2 separate regions of the Homo sapiens genome follow, and region 2 is linked to region 1. The links are contacts of gene promoters, found by promoter capture Hi-C in human tissues and cell types (Jung and others, 2019). All regions are on one chromosome and are shown on one strand. Each heading gives the region's core, a stretch centred on a gene start or on the middle of the fragment in contact. The rest is flanking DNA. Distances are from core to core; before and after follow the strand shown.

Region 1 (4,640 bases), core at 801-3,300:
GGGTTTTACTGTGGGCCGCAGGGGTCTGAATCAGTGTGTGTGAGAGTGCCCCCCTCAACTGATTTCCCCTCCCACCTTCCCTAACACCTCCACCCCCAACAAAACAAGACAAAACAAAACCCAAACCCAACACACTCACATATCCATCGAAGCCTGGCAGAGCCTGGCAGTGACATTTTGATCTATGGCTGACCTTCACCCAGGGCCCAGACCCTCTGGTTCATTTAATTCAATTTGGTCAGCATTTGCTTAACTCCTAGGTCTAGTGCTTGGTGCAAAGACAATGATGAACCAGGCCTGGAAAGGAATGAAAGGAAAGATTCATCAAAGACAATGATGAACCAGGCCTGGAAAGAGATGAAAGGAAAGAGGGGCTAGGAGAGGGGTGATAAAAATGTGTAAATCAGAGGCTAAGTATGGGGCTTGTGCCTGAACTTAACCCAGGGAGGCACCTGAGCCCTTTGTGCCCTGTCAAGGGCAGGGGCAAGGAGATGGACAGCAGCTTACATCAGGTAACCACTTACAATTGTAACTCTGGGGCACCTAAACACCCCTCTGCGTCCCTCTCCCCAATAGCTGAAGTTTTACAAGCACACTATTTTTGTTGCCTAGTTTAAGATGTAAATCCCTCTTGGAGAAGAACCTTAAAATATGATCTGTTTTCTCACCTTAGCATTAACTATTAAGTCAGCGATAAAATGGAAAGACTTGTGGGATTTTTGAATGGTCCAGAAAAGGCCACACAAAATGCATTCCCCTCCGACTTACTTCATTGATTCTCTACATTGGAAAAGAATGTCATATGGCTGTTTATTTTGTATTTAGAATCCTGGCAGAGGTGAATGAATGTCCTTATCCAGGGGAATGCTGTTCACCTGCCACACCAATCCTTATTTTACATTGGCCATTACCCCCACAGACTCCCTCCACCTTAAAATGCCCCCTGCTTTGTTTTGAGAATAGCATTGAGACCTGGTTCTCCTCTCTCATGAATTTTTGTTTCAAGCTTCCTTGGAGACAATCAGTCTTTGCCTGTTCCTTAACCAGCATTCCTTAAGGCTCCATCCTTAGCTCTTTCCTCTTCATCTTCCTATCTGTGCCCCCAGCTTCCTCCTGTGTGAAGATAGCTGTGTTTGCTTTATTTACCACTATATGCCTAGAACAGTGCATGGCATGGAATCAATGCCAAACAAATTTGTTGAGTGAATGAATGAATGAATGAATGAATGAATGCATCTCAAATCTATACCCTTGCCTAGAAGTCTACTGGGGCCAATACCACCACGACCACCACCACCACCATCATCATCATCCTCTGTAAGACCTAGCATCTAGTTGGTGTTCCCTAAGTGATGACGAAGTGAATGATGTACAGATTCCCCAGGTGCTCAGTCCCATGTTTTTGCCATTTTAAAATTCCTCCTGGGCAGACAGTGGACCTCGTTCACACATATAAAGTTGTTTTGTCAAAGTTTGGCCTTGATGGTGGCAATAACATAGGAGTATGAAACACTTTTATTATTCAATCGTCATTTCCTGAGCTCGGGCAGGAGCTGGTGCTGGGCATTCAGAGGACTAAGGCATGATCCATTCCCTAGAGGTGCTCAAAACTGGTCATAGGATACGGATGTGGAGACCCAGGTGGAAGCTGAGGTGGGGCATGGTGAGAACATAGGCTAGGACTCTGCAGGCTCTGTTATTGACCACTGATCCCTGAGTGGCATGTCCCAGGGCCTCAGCATGGCCCTCTGTAAAAGGAGAGGATAGGGCCAGACTCATACCTGCATCTTGCGTCTCTGGTATTGGGCTTCCAGGACCCAGGTAAGGGGAGCTGGAGGTTGCATAGGCTGCCTCTATGCTTCCCTAGACAATTTAGGGCTGAGTAATCTGAATCCAGCCTCCCCTGGGGAGGTGTGGCCACAGGCCAAGAAAAGCAGAGGCTAGGCTATGGACAGGCGCCTAAATTATGGTAATAAGCTGGGTACTCCTGTCACTCTAGTTCGGGGAGGAGCTGAGAGCCTGGGAGGAGGGGCTGAGGGAGCCCTGGGGCATGAGAACAAGAGGGACCTCGGCTGCGGAGTGGAGGTGTGACCCTGCCTTAGCCCGGGGAGGCACCTCGGGAGGCTGGCCCTGCGCTCAAGTCCTCCGGTCCCCTCGTGTCCCTATGGGAGTCCTGGCGTCTGCGCTCTGCTGGCTGCTTTGTGTCTGGCTGCCCTGGGGTGAGCAGGCAGCCGAGTCCCTGCGGGTGCAGCGCCTCGGTGAGAGGGTTGTGGACTCAGGGAGGTCGGGGGCTCGAGGAATGAGAAACGTTAAAGGAATGAGGAATGGGCCCGCGCAGGTTGGAGAGAGGGAGGAAAGAGAGGTTTGAGGGAGAGCAGAGGGACACCCAGGAGGAGCAGTCAGGGGAGGAGGGACCCCGAAGCCAACAGAGGCAGGCCTATGACCGCGGGGGAAAGAGTCCAAAGTTAGGCTGGGTGGAAGAGACCCGAGGTGGGGAACTAGAGAGAGCTGGGGGCCAAAGACTGAGAGTAAACAGGGAGATCCTGGCTGGAGAAGGGTCATCAGGAAGGGAGAGAAAGGATTTGAGAAGGCTGCAGGGAGGGAGAATGGGGGAATGCTCAGTGGCGTGGGAGAGGCTTTCTAGCAGTGGGGGCCAGGTGGTGGGAGGCCCCAGTAAAGACAAGCACAATTTGAGTGGAGAATAATCCCCCTCCCCAGCCGCAGCACCCGTTCTGTGGGGCAGTGCAGAGCCACAGCCAGAGCCAGCCGGGCAACCCAGGTGAGTAGGTGTGAGCTGTGGCGGCCCCACCCACAGCTCCCATCCGTATTTCTGGCATCAGCGACCCCAGGGCTTTAGCACTTAGGGTGGGATAGGCCAGGGGACTGCGGGGAGGCATAACCCATCCTAGCCCCCCATCCATGCCAGACTCGTGTTTCCTCCAGCAGCAGCCACCAGGAGGCGACCCTTGCCATGGGGGACAAGGCTACAGTCGTGGGAGGCCAGGTAAGGGAGGTCTTGGGAGGGGGCTTCATTGAGCAGGAGCTCATGTCTATCTGGATCTGAGGCTGGCAGGGAGCTCTGTAGGTTACAGGAGGGGTCTCTGGAGTTGTTCAGAAAGGAACAAGCAGATTCCTGGTATGTGTCTGAGGTGTGCAAGTTCATAAAACCCTTCTATTCTTTTTAATCTCTTGGGGGTCTATAGTCCACTCTTTTTTTTTTTTTTTTTTTTTTTTTTTTTTTTTTTTTTAGGAGAGGTGGGCACCAGGGCTCTTTCAGGAGAGAGCTGAGCTCTCCCTTCTGGCAGGTAAAAGTAGAAAGATGGACGTTTAGAAGAATGGAGTTCTCTTTTCCCTGACTGGCCTGCGAAGGCCCTCAACCCTGTCAGAGGCTCCTCTCCATACCCTGAGCGGAGCCTCAAGAATGCAGGCAAGACAAAAACTAGGCCACCTGGTGGAAGTTGCAAGGAAGGTTTGGTTGAGAAGCAGAGCCCTGAACTCATCCTTTGAGCCTTTTTTTTTCTTTTTTTGAGTCGGGGTCTTGCTCTGTGACACAGGCTGGAGTGCAGTCGCATAATCATAGTTCACTGCAGCCTCAACTTCCTGGGCTCAAGTGATCCTGGTGCCTCCGTTACCTGAGTAGCTAGGACTATAGGTGTGTGCCACCATGCCTGGTTGAATTTCAATTTTTTTGGTAGAGACAGAGTCTCACTATGTTGCCCAGGCTGGTCTTGAACTCCTGGCCTCAAGTGATCCTTCTGTGTCAGCCTCCCAAAGTGCTGGGATTAGGCATGAGCCACTGAGCCCGGCCTCTATCCTTTGAGTCTTGACCATTCCACTGCCCATCTTCCCACGGTCCTCTGTGTTTGTGGGAGAGGTGGCAGTTTTGTTTTCTCCCTTTGCCAAACTTCTTTGGTCTCTGGATCAGGTGACTCAGGTCTACTTTCTAATCCTGGCCCGCATTTGTCTCCCTCTTTCTATAACTACAGATGAGCTATAAGTTCCACCCACCTGCAGCTAGGTCCCCCAAAGCAGCTGAGCCTCAGCTCAAGTGCCCCTGCCCCAGCCCCAGCGGTCAGCTCTGGGGAGCCCCTTGAGCCAGCAGATTGGGGAGAATCGTTTATGACAGCAATGAGTCCCAACTCCTGCCCTTTGGAAATAGACATGAAGACCCCAAGGTGGAGTGAGGGGGGATGGTGTGGGCGTGCTTCTTCTCTGATGTGGATTTCCTGGATCTTTTACTTCTTCTTTGCCCACACTTCCAGGCCCTAAGATTTAGAATCACAGTCAAATACTGCTTGAGTTGGAAGGTATTGGAGTCATTTTTTTGTAGGTAGGGAAATTGAGGTGGGTGGATGACTTGTGGGGGCCCTGCAATGAGCAGGTGGAGCAAAGTCTACTGGCAGAGCCAGGCCGTGCATACAGGACTTCAGGAATCCCCATGTTTTAGTGGGGGAGATGACCCTTCTCCAAACACTTCATTTCCCTGTGGGTATCCTCCCGTGCTGGTTTCCAGGGTAGGCATCCCGCCTTTTCCTTGGGGAAGGGTCATAAGTGAGTGGACCAGGCAACCTGGGGAGGTTTCTCACGCTGCTCCTCAGAGCAACGAGGAATTAGAATGGCCTCCCTCTAAGGTGACAGGA
Region 2 (4,640 bases), core at 1,657-4,156, 140 kb before region 1:
CTATAAAGTAGGTTTCCCCTATTATTGTCTGCAACCTGTTTGCTCCACAGTATCTGCTGTACATGCATTTCTCTAGCTATTTATAATCATCTCCCTCAATAGACTGCAAATTCCATGAAGATGTTTTATTCACCAATATACCCCAGCACCTGGCACTATCAATAAATATTTGTTGGATGAATGCATGGCACTCCCCTGACCCTCTGAAATTGATGGAATCTCTCTGCACAGGGAACTCTGGAGGCTTCTTTCTCATCCTTAGGTCCTCATCATGTTTTCCCTGAGTTACTGCGCATGGACCTGCCTCCTTTCTCTGATCAACCTGGGCTGCCGTCATCACTCTCCTTGGCCGCTTCCCTCAGACCTTGCTGACGTAGGCCCGGCCCAGAGGAGATGCAGGAGCACTTGTTTGATGATGGAGGAAGGAACGAAAGAAAAGCTGCCTCATCATCGCTGGTTTGATAGGACCAAACTCAGGGGACACGGAGGCACCCAAGACGTACCTTACTGGGCATTTGCTTTTCACCCTGGAAGGTGTTAGTTCAGCTTTGATTGTCTCTGCGTGGAGAGAGGGCATGTGTCTGAGGGGACTGAAGGGAGGTTCTGAGGTGGGAGAGAGCATGCTACTGCACACCCCCAGGGTGGAGACGTGTGGGAGGGTGACGTGTCTGCAGTGAGTGTGAAACCATGCCTGAAGGGTAGAGTAAGTGCGTGTTGAAAATGTGTGTGCATCAGGGCATGTGCGTGTTATAGGAGTGTGAGGCGCTCAGCGTATGTGGGTCTCAGGACTGTGTGAGTTGAGGGTCGGCAAGTGTGAGATGGGAGCTTCTGCCACAGGCGTGCGACAGTGTGTCTGAGGACTAGAAAAGAGCCCCAGCCTCGGAGCCATGTAAACCCAGGTTGGAGCCTGAACATCACAACTTCCTGGCTGTGTATCAGGACTGAGACTCAGTTTTCTTATGAAAAAAATGGGGAAGTGATAGTTCCTACATGAACGAAAACAACCTCCGAGCCCGCCACTGAGCCCAGTGCTGGGCACTCTTGAAACTCTTTTGGGAAAAAATAAGATCTCTTAGGAAAGCCCAGAAGGTCAGGCAAACCTGGGTTCCAAGCTCAGCGCCAGCCCCCGCAGTCTGTGTGACCTTGGATTGATTACCCAGCCTCTCTGGGTCTCGCTTCTGCATCTGGAGAATGTGGCGATTCGTACCTATGTTATGTGGTCCTTGTGAGGATTAAATGTAATAATGCACATACAACACTTAGCACGGTGCCTGGCATACAGTAAGTGGGCAATCAATAAGTGCTAATAGCTCTCAACAGGCTGCTGGATTAAAGCCAATGCATTAAATGTGTATGGGGTTGATTAAAAAGCCTTTCATTCAAATTTAAAAATCATTCACCGTGTCAGTAGGGTGTGGAAGACCTCACTGGGTAGCAGTGGCTCTGGCTGACCACAGGTTTGGCCTGATCTGAGGCTGTTTACAGGAAGCTGGGATCTGCACACAAGGGGCTGTGGCCCACTCTAGAAGAGTCACCATCTCTCTACCCCAGGGCCCTCTGAGACACCAATTGAGAGAGGGAAATCACCAAAACTTAGAGCAAAGGCTAGGCTCAGTAATGTCGAGGGACCTGGAAGTTGAAGGAACGGGAGAAGTTCAGGCTTGAGAAGAGGAGGCTGGGAGGAGACTCTAGAGTCATAATCCAGTCCCCAGCAAGCTTCTTTGTGGAAGACACAGCATAGGCTTGTCCAGGGGCAAGGGATGTCCAGGGAGCAGCGCCAAGGCCAGGGCAGAGCTTTGCTCTGCTCTTCTTTACTTAGACAAGATCCCTAAGAGGTGGATTTCCACTGGCCCTAGGTGCTCCAGGGTGGGCAGAGGGGCCTGGATACCTCTCCAGGGCTGAAGCTGGACTTCAGGGGTTGGGGGGAGGAGATGTAAGCCTCTCTGGCCCTTGGCTGGTCCTTGTGCCCTATGGTTACTCCTGGACACAGTGCTTGGTGTCTCATGGTTACTGTCATACTTCGTGCAGCTGTGCCACCCTAAAAATAACCTATTATCACTCTCTGGATGAAGATGAGAAAAGAGCCCAACTTTGTGTGTCAGGGGTCTCTGGCCTGCCTGACTGGAAGAGAGATGCCTCTGGAGATCAGACAGACTCTTGGGGAGTGGGAAACAACAGCTTCCCTCATTCCCCAGGCAACCTCAGATGCTCCTGTCCACCCCAACATCACCACTCAGGGTAGTGAGACGATGGCAGGGGCACTGAAGTTTTCAGGAATTCCTCAGCCTGGTGAACTCCTGCCCCTCCTTTGAGTCCTAGTTCTGATGACACCTCTGGTACAAAAACCTTCCCGGACTGTCTCTCTTCTATGCTCCCACAGCCCTTGAATCCGCTTTTTTCAGAATACTTGTCACGTGGATTTATCCTGGCCTGCTCAAAGTCTGGGCTGTAAACGCCTGCAGGGCAGCGGCTTATTTGACTCATCTTTTTAGTGCCTGGCATGGGGCTTAGCACATAGTCGGGGCTTAGTAAATGTTTGTTGCATGAACAAATAGGTTCAAGTCTGGGCTTTGTGGCACCTTACACAGAGAGGTTATAGAACGTCTCTGTGCCTCAGTTTCCTTGTCTGTGCAATGGAAATGACCATTCTCAGCACCGAGGGTTGCAGTGCAGAATGAGTGGGATTGGCCTGTACAGTACTCAGCATAGTGTTTGGCACACAGGGGCTCCTTAATAAAAGAAGGGCTTAGGGTGGCCCGCACCTAAGGCCCTTTCTAGCGTTGATACATGAAGACTTGTCCCAGCTTTGTCTCTTTTCATGCTCTGCCTCACAGAGGTCCTGGGCTTGTCTACAGAGCTGGAATTTTCCTCTCTAGAACATTCAGTGGGAGCCCACCTGGCCTGTCCCTGCTGGTGGATATCCCTTGGGCCTTGGGACCTGAGGCAGCTTGAGAGAGAACGTGTCCTTGGCCTTCCCAAGTGGAGTCCTGAGAATCAAATCTCATGGCCTGTGCCCCCTGGCCCCACCCCTGTTCCACTCCTACCTTGGGGGAATGTGGACTCGTACCTGAAGGCCCGGATGGTGGTGAGTCCTTCTACGGTTTCGGCAAAGTGTGAGAGAAGTGGAAGCTGGGTGGTGTCATCCAGCTGCTGCAGGTCCCTGTGGCGGGGAACAGAGTGGAACAGTTAAGAGGGCAGGCTCAGGGCTCGGCCTGGGCCTGAAGCCTAGCTCCACCTGCTACCGCTGTGTGGGTGAATGGCCTTACCTCTCTAGGCCTCAGCTTCTTACCCCGTGAAGGGGGAAGACAATGCCACCAGCCCATTGAGCTTTTGTGAGCACTGAATGAGATCGTTTATGTACAATGCTTAGACACAGCCTGATGTGGGGCACAATTACTGCTGTCCTGGGCATTGTCAACCCCAGGTCGCCATCTGTCCCTGTACTTCTGCTGCACAGCCTGGAGCTGAGCTAAGGCTGGGCAGGCAGTGCTAGTTCCATTTTACAGGTGAACAATCTGAACCTTGAGACAGCTGGCCAAAGGAACAGAAGACCAAACTCAAAGCGTTCAACCCCGTCTTCCGCTTACCCCATCAAGGAGCTCTTTAGACCCTGGCCAGTGATGTGCTGAAATGATAGGTTTCGTCTCGGGGTAAGGCCAGAGGTTTCCATGGCAACAGAATTGCCTCCTGCTCCCCAAAGCTGCACCTCGACAAGCACATCAGTGCCAGGGAGGCCAGTTTGGGATGCAGGAAGTTGATTTCCCTGATAAACCATCTCCAGGGTCAGACTGGGTGCCACAGAGACTGGGCTGTTTCTCTGGCAGAAGAAATGAACTTTGTAGAACAGCTTGTGCAGCACTTTGAATTTTTTGAGTGTCAAAAAGCTATGTTGTTCGTGTGGGTGTCGGGCCATTCTGGATCATCCAAGCAAAAAGCCATTTATACAAATGTTGATCCTTTGGGGCAGGTAATTGTGTCCAAAATGCATCTAAATTTTATTATTGCTAATAAGTATCTCAACTCTAGTTTCTAGCCAACTATGTGCACTTGGGAAAGGTACTTAACCTTTCTGACCACAACCTGCAGTCAGAAATATATTTTATCTCACAAATCAGTACTCACACACCTCCATGACCAACACAAAGGTTTCATGAAGCAAAGCTTGCTTTACTCTATGAATACAGTCTGATGTTTTTTTCATTTTTAAAAAAATGCTGGTTGTGATCCATGATATTGATTTCATGACCCACTGATGGGCTGTAATTGGCAGTTTGAGAAACACTGGCCTAGACGTTCTTTAAATTTTTTCCTACAATTTTTTGAATCTATGAGTTTCTATGAATCTGGGAGAATCACTCCCAGAAAGAACTCCCTAGAGAACATTCTTAGAAAATTTTGAGGAGGAAAGAGGCGTGCATGGATCCAAAGCTCATGAGGGCAAATGTGATCCATGAGAATGGCTGTGAGAGGCTCCCTCAAGTCAAGGCTTACAGCTACACTCTGGACTCACGTGGGCTGGGAGGTGTTATCATAACACTGCTTGAATCAGGTGCCCGCCGATTTCATGCATCAGCAATCAGCCTGACCACTAGAATGATGCAACCCTCCTGGGAAGCATGTTGGCAAAATGAATGAAGGGC

Evidence for each region. The method cuts DNA at HindIII sites, captures the fragments that hold promoters and counts their contacts. A contact is called where the count stands out against the background at its distance.
Region 2: a contact is called between a fragment that was not itself captured here and the fragment with the promoter of OTOG in region 1, in 4 of the 25 tissues and cell types used here (bladder, mesendoderm cells, ovary and 1 more).

The regions. Positions count from the first base shown.
Region 1 is chr11:17,545,209-17,549,848 of GRCh38, forward strand. OTOG (otogelin) reads left to right here and starts at 2,051. Exons shown (of 56, transcript NM_001292063.2): 1 at 2,051-2,258; 2 at 2,719-2,779; 3 at 2,944-3,004. The coding sequence starts at 2,165. The HindIII fragment of the contact is 5,491 bases long and covers 1-4,640 here.
Region 2 is chr11:17,399,594-17,404,233 of GRCh38, forward strand. It overlaps ABCC8 (ATP binding cassette subfamily C member 8), which reads right to left. Exons shown (of 39, transcript NM_000352.6): 29 at 3,068-3,160. Among named protein-coding and RNA genes, the nearest start is that of KCNJ11, 13 kb to the left of the region's middle. The HindIII fragment of the contact is 5,275 bases long and covers 270-4,640 here.